Linked DNA regions of Homo sapiens: region 2 is linked to region 1. The links are contacts of gene promoters, found by promoter capture Hi-C in human tissues and cell types (Jung and others, 2019). All regions are on one chromosome and are shown on one strand. Each heading gives the region's core, a stretch centred on a gene start or on the middle of the fragment in contact. The rest is flanking DNA. Distances are from core to core; before and after follow the strand shown.

Region 1 (4,267 bases), core at 826-3,325:
AGAGGTAAAAACGTAAGACAAACTTCACTAAAATTGACATGTTCATCTTCCAAGACAGGCTGCTTCAATTTCGCATTTGGAAGCTTGATAGATTTTCTGCTCCCCAAGCTCTGAAAGGCCTAATTTTAACATAAATGTTAACAGTAAGCCAAAATTTCAGGATATCTGAGCCCAAGGTAGACAAGTCAACAAGCCAGGACTCTGCAGACCCTGGACATCCCACATTCCTGCTCTGGAGAAACACTTCCCAGGGCCCCTTGCACCCTGCATCCTTGGACAACTTCCAGGTAAAAGGACCCCATCCCCTTGGTCTGGCTTATTTTCTGGAAGGAAGAAGCAGGCTCAGGGAGGTGTGCACAGACTAAAGATAGGTTGCTGGGAAAATACTGGGGCTTGAGCCACCGACGGGGGCACGGCGCGGGCACTGAAACGAAGAACTCTAGGGTGCAAGATGGGGGAGGGGCTGAATTTCCCTATCACCATCTCTTCTCCTTAAGATATCAGGATGTATCAGATAGCCCACTGAGGAGGGACTGCATTGAGTGGAAATGGGGAGAGGCCTCTGGTCTGGGATAGGTATGGATCAGGGGCAGGAGTGAGAGGGGGGTGTGGGGGCTGAAAACGTATGAGGACGTTTGGGGAAACATGAGCAAGAATTTTGGATGTGGGCATTTTGGATAGTGCAAGGAGAATGGGGATATGAGGGATCCTAGGAATTTCCGGGCAGTGGAAGCATTTGGGGGCATCCAAGAGAAATGGTGGGTCCGTGGGCATAGCAGGAGATTTGTTGAGTGAATGAGGGGGTTCTGAGGGCTCCAGGAGATGCGATGATGTGTCCAGGGCGGAGAGGGTAGAGGTGGGTTGGGGGAGCCAGAGGCTGCAGGACAGGCTACAGGACTGTCAAGGGGAATTTCTACATGCCCGTAAGGAATGAGGAGGTCTGGGTGCGCGCTGTCCCCGGATCCCCGCCCCCAGCCCCGGTGCTCCGCCGCCTGCCCGCCCGCCCGGGGCTTCCTAGGGAGGGAGTGGAGACTGCGGCGCGGCGCGGCGCGGCGCGGCGCGGCCTCGGTGAAGCCGCCTCGTCCCCGCCCCGCCGCGCCCCGACTCACATCGCCCCGCGGCCCGGGCGGCGCCGGGCCCCGCTCCCGGGTCCCGCTGCAGCAGCCGCCGCCCGCCCGGAGCTAAGGCCTCCCCGCCCCGCCCCGCCCCGCGGCCGCGGGGTCGGAGGTCACCGGCAGCACCAACGAGACGCTGCGGGCTGGCGGACCCGAGCGGGGGCGACCGGCACGCAGCCTAGAAGGTCCCTTTGGAGGACTTTGCAGTCGGGAGCAGTGAGCATGCGCAGACGCCAGAGGGCGCTCCTGGCCAGGGGCTGAGCAAGCCCGGAGGGGACAGGGCGGAGCCTGCGGCGGAGGCGGGGCGCGGAGGCGGGGCTGAGGACACCAAAGTTGGGGGTGGTCCGGGGAGCGGAAAGGGGACGGAGGGTTGGGCGAGAAACGAAGGGAAGGGGAGAGGGTCTGAAGGGACCTGAAAGGAGAAGGGCAAGACGATGGAACCTGGAAGAGGGTTGAGGGGAGGGGAAGGGGCCAGGGGGACCACTGGGGACAAGGGGGAGAGAACTGAAGGGAAACACGCGGAGGAGCGGGGCTGGGAGACCACAGGGAGAGTTTGGGGAGACCTGGGAACTGCGGAGAGACAGGGCTGCGGGCCCGGCGAGGCGTTTCCATTCAGCGAATGGTTGAAAACCCAGCGTAAACGCGGCTCCCGGCGTCTGCTGGATGCCTGCCGGGCGCAGTCCGAGCCAGAGAGCCCTTGCACCTGCATGGCAGAGGCCATGGAGCCCGCACATTTCCACCCTGAGATCCCATAAATGTGGTTTTGTTTTCCTTTTTTTTTTCCTCCCCCCAATCTGCAGCTCCAGGCCCCTCCCTGAGCCGCCCCTCTCCACCAGCCGGGGAGGGGCGGGCGGGGGCCGCTGGGGCGTGGGAGAGGAAGGGCCGCGCTATTAGGGCGGGCGGGGGCGGACGGGGGCGGGCGCTGAAGCCTTGGGGTGGGGACCGGGTGAGGGGCCTGACGGCAGAGTCGGTCCAGAACTGCCCGGACAGCGACGCACAGCGAGGGTGAGACCCCAGCGGAGTCCTGGTCCCCTCCCCTAAAATCCCAGCAGCCAGACCGGGAACCCCAGCGGACTCGGGAAACACCGCGTCCCAGCCCCGGAGGCGGGCCCGCCAAGTTCCAGAAAAACTCTGGGGATCTATCGAGAGGGCAGTTGGCGGGACTGGGCACTCCCCTTCCTTCTCCCTCCCACTGTCCCCAGAAATCTTCCCATCCCTCCACCTCCCCAAGCCCTAAGTCCTCTCGGGCTCTGCCCTTCAGGGCAGCGGGTGTTGGGGATGTCCAGCTCCTGAGCCCTCTTGCACGGAGGCTCTGCACGGAGGCAAGACAAGGGGTTCAGCTCTGTCCCTTATCTGAGGTGGGAGGGGGAAGGGAATTATGGAAGGAATCCAGCTGGCCTGTTAGTAAGGGTGTTCCAGTGCTAGGTGGAGGTGGAGTTTGGCTGCCTTTGGGGAGATTGGAAGGGTGAGGAATAGAGGCCTGATTTCTGAGTGTTGTTTCTGTGTTGGACAATTCTATGCAAACTAGAGCCAAAATGGAAGAGGGTGCAAGTCCCCTCCTGGGGCCCCAGACGCCCCCTCCTTTCTTGCTGCCTGGAGCAGGGGCAGTGCTGTTAGTGGCTACTCCTGGTGTGAACAGCCCATCCTGGCCACCTTCCACAGGAAACCTGACCTGAAGGACAGAAGAGGAAGGAAGCAGGTGGGTGTGAAGCCAGGAAGGAGGGAAGGGTGGCACAGGACATTTGAAGTGGGAGTGGAGGGGCGGTGCTGAGGAGGGTTCAGTGCTGGGAAGCAATATTAACTGTTACAGTCCAAACCCTCACCTCAACCCCAGTACGAATCCCTGGCCCAGTCTTAGAGGCCAGGGATTTGATGATGACCCTCCTGTGCCCAGCTACTTTCAGAATCTATCCCAGCTCTCAGAAGCCAGGTCCCCCTAAGGCTTCCCTTAGCCTCTGGTATGATCTTGGGCAAGTTAATTAACTTGTTTCAACTGTCAAGTGGAATGAAAGAGATTACCTCATAAGATTATTGTGAGGATGGACTATATTATGTAATATTCTAGAAGAGTCCTTGGCACAGAGTAAATATTATTAAAAAGTTTGCTCTGGTTATTTTTTTCTCCAGGGTTTTTGTATGTCTGTCCCGAGCTCTGATTGATCCCATTCTACCTGGTTTCATCTTTGTCTTACCCACTATGAGCTCCTTGAGGGCGGGGCTCATCTCTTCTCTACATTAATAGTCGCTTTTTTTTTTTTTTTTTTGAGACGGAGTCTCACTCTGTTGCCCAGGCTGGAGTGCAGTGGCATGATCTCAGCTCACTGCCACCTCTGCCTTCCAGGTAGGTTGGAGCGATTCTCCTGCCTCAGCCTCTGGAGTAGCTGGGATTACAGGCACACATTACCACGCCCAGCTTATTTTTGTATTTGTAGTAGAGATGGGGTTTCCCCATGTTGGCCAGGATGGTCTCGAACCACTGACCTCAGGTGATCTGCCTGCCTCAGCCTCCCAAAGTGCTGGGATTACAGGCATAAGCCACTGTGCCCAGCCAATGGTCACTTCTTCTTTTTTTTTTTTTTTTTTTTTGAGACGGAGTCTTGCTCTGTCGCCCAGGCTGGAGTGCAGTGGCGCGATCTTGGCTCACTGCAAGCTCCACCTCCCGGGTTCACACCATTCTCCTGCCTCAGCCTCCGGAGTAGCTGGGACTATAGGCGCCCGCCACCACGCCCGGCTAATTTTTTTAATATTTTTAGTAGAGAGGAGGTTTACACCGTGTTAGCCAGGATGGTCTCGATCTCCTGACCTCGTGATCCGCTTGTCTCGGCCTCCCGGAGTGCTGGGATTACAGGCGTGAGCCACCGTGCCCAGCCAATAGTCACTTCTTACCCCCAAGATATTATGGTCATATCAGGAGCTGCCGAGAGGAAAGCTGAAGAGATGAACTTAGATTATCCAATGCAATTGCTGCTATATATAAAAGTGCAAGGTGTTCCTCTGTCTTTGAGGAACTTATAGACTAGATTAGGAGCCGAGAGAGATGCAGGGAGCAAAGAGAAAAACATTAGGTGCTAAATCTTGGGGCACTGCTTGCTTCAGGAGCTCAGGGAAGGGAGAGCTGGTGTGGTCACAGAGGCTGAGAAGGGCTTCCTAGT
Region 2 (4,267 bases), core at 559-3,058, 190 kb before region 1:
AGGTCTCACCCCCCCTCTCCCACCATACCCTGCCCAACGGACAGCCTACTGTGCTCACATCTCGGAGAGACAGGTACAGGGGTCCAGGCTGGGAGGGGCATCAAAGGCCTGCCTGGGGGTAGACCTGGCCCCCCACCCATGAGGGCTGACTGTGAGGGAGGGGGTGGAGCCCACGGACCGGAGGTTCACTCCCTCTCCACTCCCTCTCCCGGGGTGTACAGATGGTGCTTGGCCGCTGGGAAACCTGTATTGGGGCAGAAATGTCACCAGCAGGGGAGCTGGTGCTCAGCTGACTACAGGGCCGCTGGGGTCTTCAGGGTCCCTGATCGGCCACCTCCCTGCTGTCCTCCCAGCTCTTCCCACGAGGAGACCCCCGGCTCCCACCCCCTGTACGGACACGGAGAGTGCAAGTGGCCAGGCTGTGAGACCCTGTGTGAAGACCTGGGCCAGTTTATCAAGTAGGTGTCACCCCCAGCCCCTCCCCCAGCAGCCTTTCCCCACAGGGCCTCTCCCCCAACCCTGCCCACTAGCTTGCCCCTTCTGGGAGCCCTCCTCACTAGCTGTACTACTGTCCTCACTCCAGAGGGTTCTAGTTCTTTCTCTGCCCCCCACGGACTCCCTGATCACCCACTCCCTACCCTGTCTATATTTCTGGGCCTGCATTCCCCTGACTCCATCCCCAGCGCAGGGTGCGGGTAGGAGAAGGAGAGGACAAACATAAGCATTACTCCTCCCCCCACCCTCCCCTGCTCCCCTCCAGCCTCAGCCCCGGGGAGTGATGGCGAGTGACAGGCTGAGGGCCGCAGACAGGCAGGGCGGGAGGTGGACGGGCGGCTGGCAGCAGGCGGCCAGCTGCCACAGCCGTGCCAGGCTCTGTCACTGACTGATTAACTCCGCTGTCTCCCAGACCCTTGCAGCATCAGGGTCAAACAAATTGTTTTCACGCTTCGTCAGAGGTTTACTTAATTAGTTCATTTGCAATTAGATCTCTCTGTAGCTGGGATTTTAGCAAAGACATCAAAGGAGGCTGACGAGAAGGGAGAAGCCTTCCTCCATTGCCCCGTTTTTCCACCTCTTTCTCTTCTTTGTATCTCTTGGTCTGTCTGCTTTTCAGGCCATGGGTGGGATTAGAGGATAGGATGGGAGGATGGTGGCAGCAGGGAAACCGGAGCCAACTTTCTCTCCTCCTCTCTTCCCCTTGAAGACACCTCAACACAGAGCACGCCCTGGATGACCGGAGTACAGCCCAGTGCCGGGTACAGATGCAGGTGGTGCAGCAGCTGGAGATCCAGGTGTGGCCCGGAAGATGCTGGGGAGGGACATGGTGGGCTCCAGCCCCTGCCCACCCACAGCACTGACTTGCTAGGTGGGCTCTGTTGGGAGGGTCTCATGGAAGGGTCCTATGGTCAAAGCCACCATCTTATGCTTTCTAGGTCCTAATGACCATGGTTGTGAGGTGAGGACAGCTGGATTCTGAGGGGTAAACCAAGGTTGGGGGCGTCTCTGCTGGGAGGTCCAGAAGAGACTCACGCTACATAGAAACATCAAAAATAATTATTAGCAGCTAACATATGGAGCACTTACTTTGTGCTGTGCTAAATACTTTATATAGCTCAAGGAATCCTCTCAACAACCTTATGTGGTGGGTACCATTATTCTCCCCATTTTCCAGATGGAGAAAACAGGCACACAGAGCTAAAGTAACTTGCCTGTGAGTGGCAGAGCTGGGATTAGAACCCAGGCAGCCTGGCTTTCCCAAGGGAGTATCCCAGCTACTTGAGAGGGGACACTCAGCAGCACAGGGTTCCCAGGAAGCAACTCAGGGCAGCTCCTCTGTGCTTACCCATCTCCCTCCAGCACCTAGCAGAGCATCCTGCTGTGAGAGGGTGGTCATGAGAGACCCATTGAGTTTATGAATGGGGTGTCTGAGCCATTCATCAGTTCCTGCATCTGCATTCAGTATGCAAGGCCCTCACACACAAGTGCCACTGCACAAGGCACAGTGGCCGCCCCCCCGTGGGTGGGTAGGAAGAAGCCTCCCAACATGTAGAGGCAGGGATAAGCTCCAGCCAGGACGCACTGGGAGGGCTCAAATGGTCACCATCCAGGGGAGAAAGGGAGAGGCTTCATGGAGCTGGCAGCCCTTGAGGGGTAGAGCATTGCTGAGGCCTCCCTGGAGCGGGTCACAGAGGGAGCATGGATGCTGAGGCAAGGAGGCGAATGGGGGTGGGAATCGGCGGCCTTCTGAAGAGCCTGGCGGTGGAGGGGTGGGACAACACTGCCTCCAGGGTTCAGCCTCCCGCTCACCTCCTGCTTTGCCACCCTCCACAGCTCGCCAAGGAGAGCGAGCGGCTGCAGGCCATGATGGCCCACCTGCACATGCGGCCCTCGGAGCCCAAGCCCTTCAGCCAGCCAGTGAGTGCTGCTCCCCTCCCCGCCCCTCCCAGAGCCTTCCACAGACCCTGGAGCCTCGGGACCCCCACCCTCGGGCACTGGTCTCAGTACCCTCCCCGTTGCTCACAGCTGAACCCGGTCCCCGGCTCCTCCTCATTCTCCAAGGTGACCGTCTCTGCAGCAGACTCATTCCCAGATGGTCTCGTGCACCCCCCGACCTCGGCCGCAGCCCCTGTCACCCCTCTACGGCCCCCTGGCCTGGGCTCTGCCTCCCTGCATGGTGGGGGCCCAGCCCGTCGGAGAAGCAGTGACAAGTTCTGCTCCCCCATCTCCTCAGGTGAGGGTGGGCTGGGGGCTGCAGGGCGACAGCAGCGTGAGGCTGTTTTTCCCATCTGAGCCCCATATCTGGCTACCTCATCCTCTGCCTGTCTCCCCAGAGCTGGCCCAGAATCATGAGTTCTACAAGAACGCCGACGTCCGGCCCCCCTTCACCTACGCCTCCCTCATCCGCCAGGTGAGCAGGGCAGGTAGGAGGAGGGTGGGGAATGGCACACAGGCTGCTCCCCCAGCCCCCGCCACACCCCTGCCTCCAGGAAGGTCCTGGGGCCAAGCAATGGAGCTGTCCCGCTCCCTCTCACGTGGCGGTCTTCCCTCTCTGCTGTGCGGGGCTCTCCTGCAGGCTGGGCCCTGTCAGCCTGCTGCATAGGGTTATGTGTCTCTGGGGGTGCACACACTGTTCTTCTTACTGACACCCACCGTGGCATTCATGTGCTCATTTCCACGTACACAGCCCGCCATGATAGACTCAGGGTCACTCTTCGTCTCTCTCCTTTGTCTTTCCTCCCTCAAGCCCATGATCTTCATGTCACCAATGTTCACATAGTATTCACACTCAAGCATGAACTTACATCGACACATATGTCCTCCCTGATACCCACACAGGCATGTACACCTTCACACACATTCTTTCTGTCACACACACACTGTGCTTAGGGTACCTTTTGCCAAAATCAGGATAAATTCCAAACAGCCTCCACCCCGTGGACATCTCTCCCAAGAAAGACAGGACTGACTGCTTTCACCCTCGGTGCAGGGCCAGGTACTAAAGGCATTTTCTCTCCAGAAGCAGCTCCAATCCTTCTTGTACAAATACATAGCCCTTGGAGGCTCCTGCCCTCTTTATCCTTGGCCAAGCTATAACCAGCCTGTCCCTCTGAGGGGACCCACCAGCCACCACCCATCTTGTTATCCACACATTTCTGAGCAGGTCTTCTCACAAAGTGAACTCGGGGCTAGGCAGAAGGGAGAGGTACTGGGGGAGGGAACCCAGGGCTGTGACCCTTCGAGGCCCAGGCTGACGGTCCCTTTGCTTGTTCCTTCCCCGCAGGCCATCCTGGAAACCCCTGACAGGCAGCTGACCCTGAATGAGATCTATAACTGGTTCACCAGGATGTTCGCCTATTTCCGCAGAAACACTGCCACCTGGAAGGTGAAGCAGGCCCCTTCCACCTTCTGGGCCCCAGTCACCCTTGGACCTGCCATATCCCATGGAGACCAAGGCTGCCTAACAATTAGTTCCCTAAACCATTAGTCCTGCAGAAACAGCCACCCAAGGGCCCAGCCAGGGCTGCATGCCCACGCCCACCTCAGCAGGGGCTGTGGATTGTTCCATAACCTTTTAATGATCCCTTCCTTCCAGCCTGGTGCTGCCTCCTTTCTGGGAAGCAATCCTTCTCTAGGGTACACCCCCAAGGGCCCCAAAGACGCCAGCCCCACGAGGTAGGGCCTCTAGGAATTGCTAATGCCCAAGCTTGATACAGAAGCCTGGGCCGAATTTCACAGAGACCCTAAGGGTCTGGATACCTTGGCTTAA

Evidence for each region. The method cuts DNA at HindIII sites, captures the fragments that hold promoters and counts their contacts. A contact is called where the count stands out against the background at its distance.
Region 2: a contact is called between a fragment that was not itself captured here and the fragment with the promoter of PRICKLE4 in region 1, in 1 of the 25 tissues and cell types used here (lymphoblastoid cells).

What each region holds. Positions count from the first base shown.
Region 1 is chr6:41,778,707-41,782,973 of GRCh38, forward strand. It overlaps PRICKLE4 (prickle planar cell polarity protein 4), which reads left to right and starts at 2,076. Exons shown (of 8, transcript NM_013397.6): 1 at 2,076-2,120; 2 at 2,644-2,814. It overlaps FRS3 (fibroblast growth factor receptor substrate 3), which reads right to left and starts at 1,194. Exons shown (of 7, transcript NM_006653.5): 1 at 1,110-1,194. RefSeq lists silencers at 920-1,069, 1,100-1,509, 1,790-1,859. The HindIII fragment of the contact is 3,550 bases long and covers 1-3,212 here.
Region 2 is chr6:41,587,440-41,591,706 of GRCh38, forward strand. FOXP4 (forkhead box P4) reads left to right here. Exons shown (of 17, transcript NM_001012426.2): 7 at 1-73; 8 at 354-458; 9 at 1,205-1,292; 10 at 2,332-2,415; 11 at 2,524-2,731; 12 at 2,832-2,908; 13 at 3,782-3,883. Among named protein-coding and RNA genes, the nearest start is that of MIR4641, 9.2 kb to the right of the region's middle. The HindIII fragment of the contact is 5,524 bases long and covers 1-4,267 here.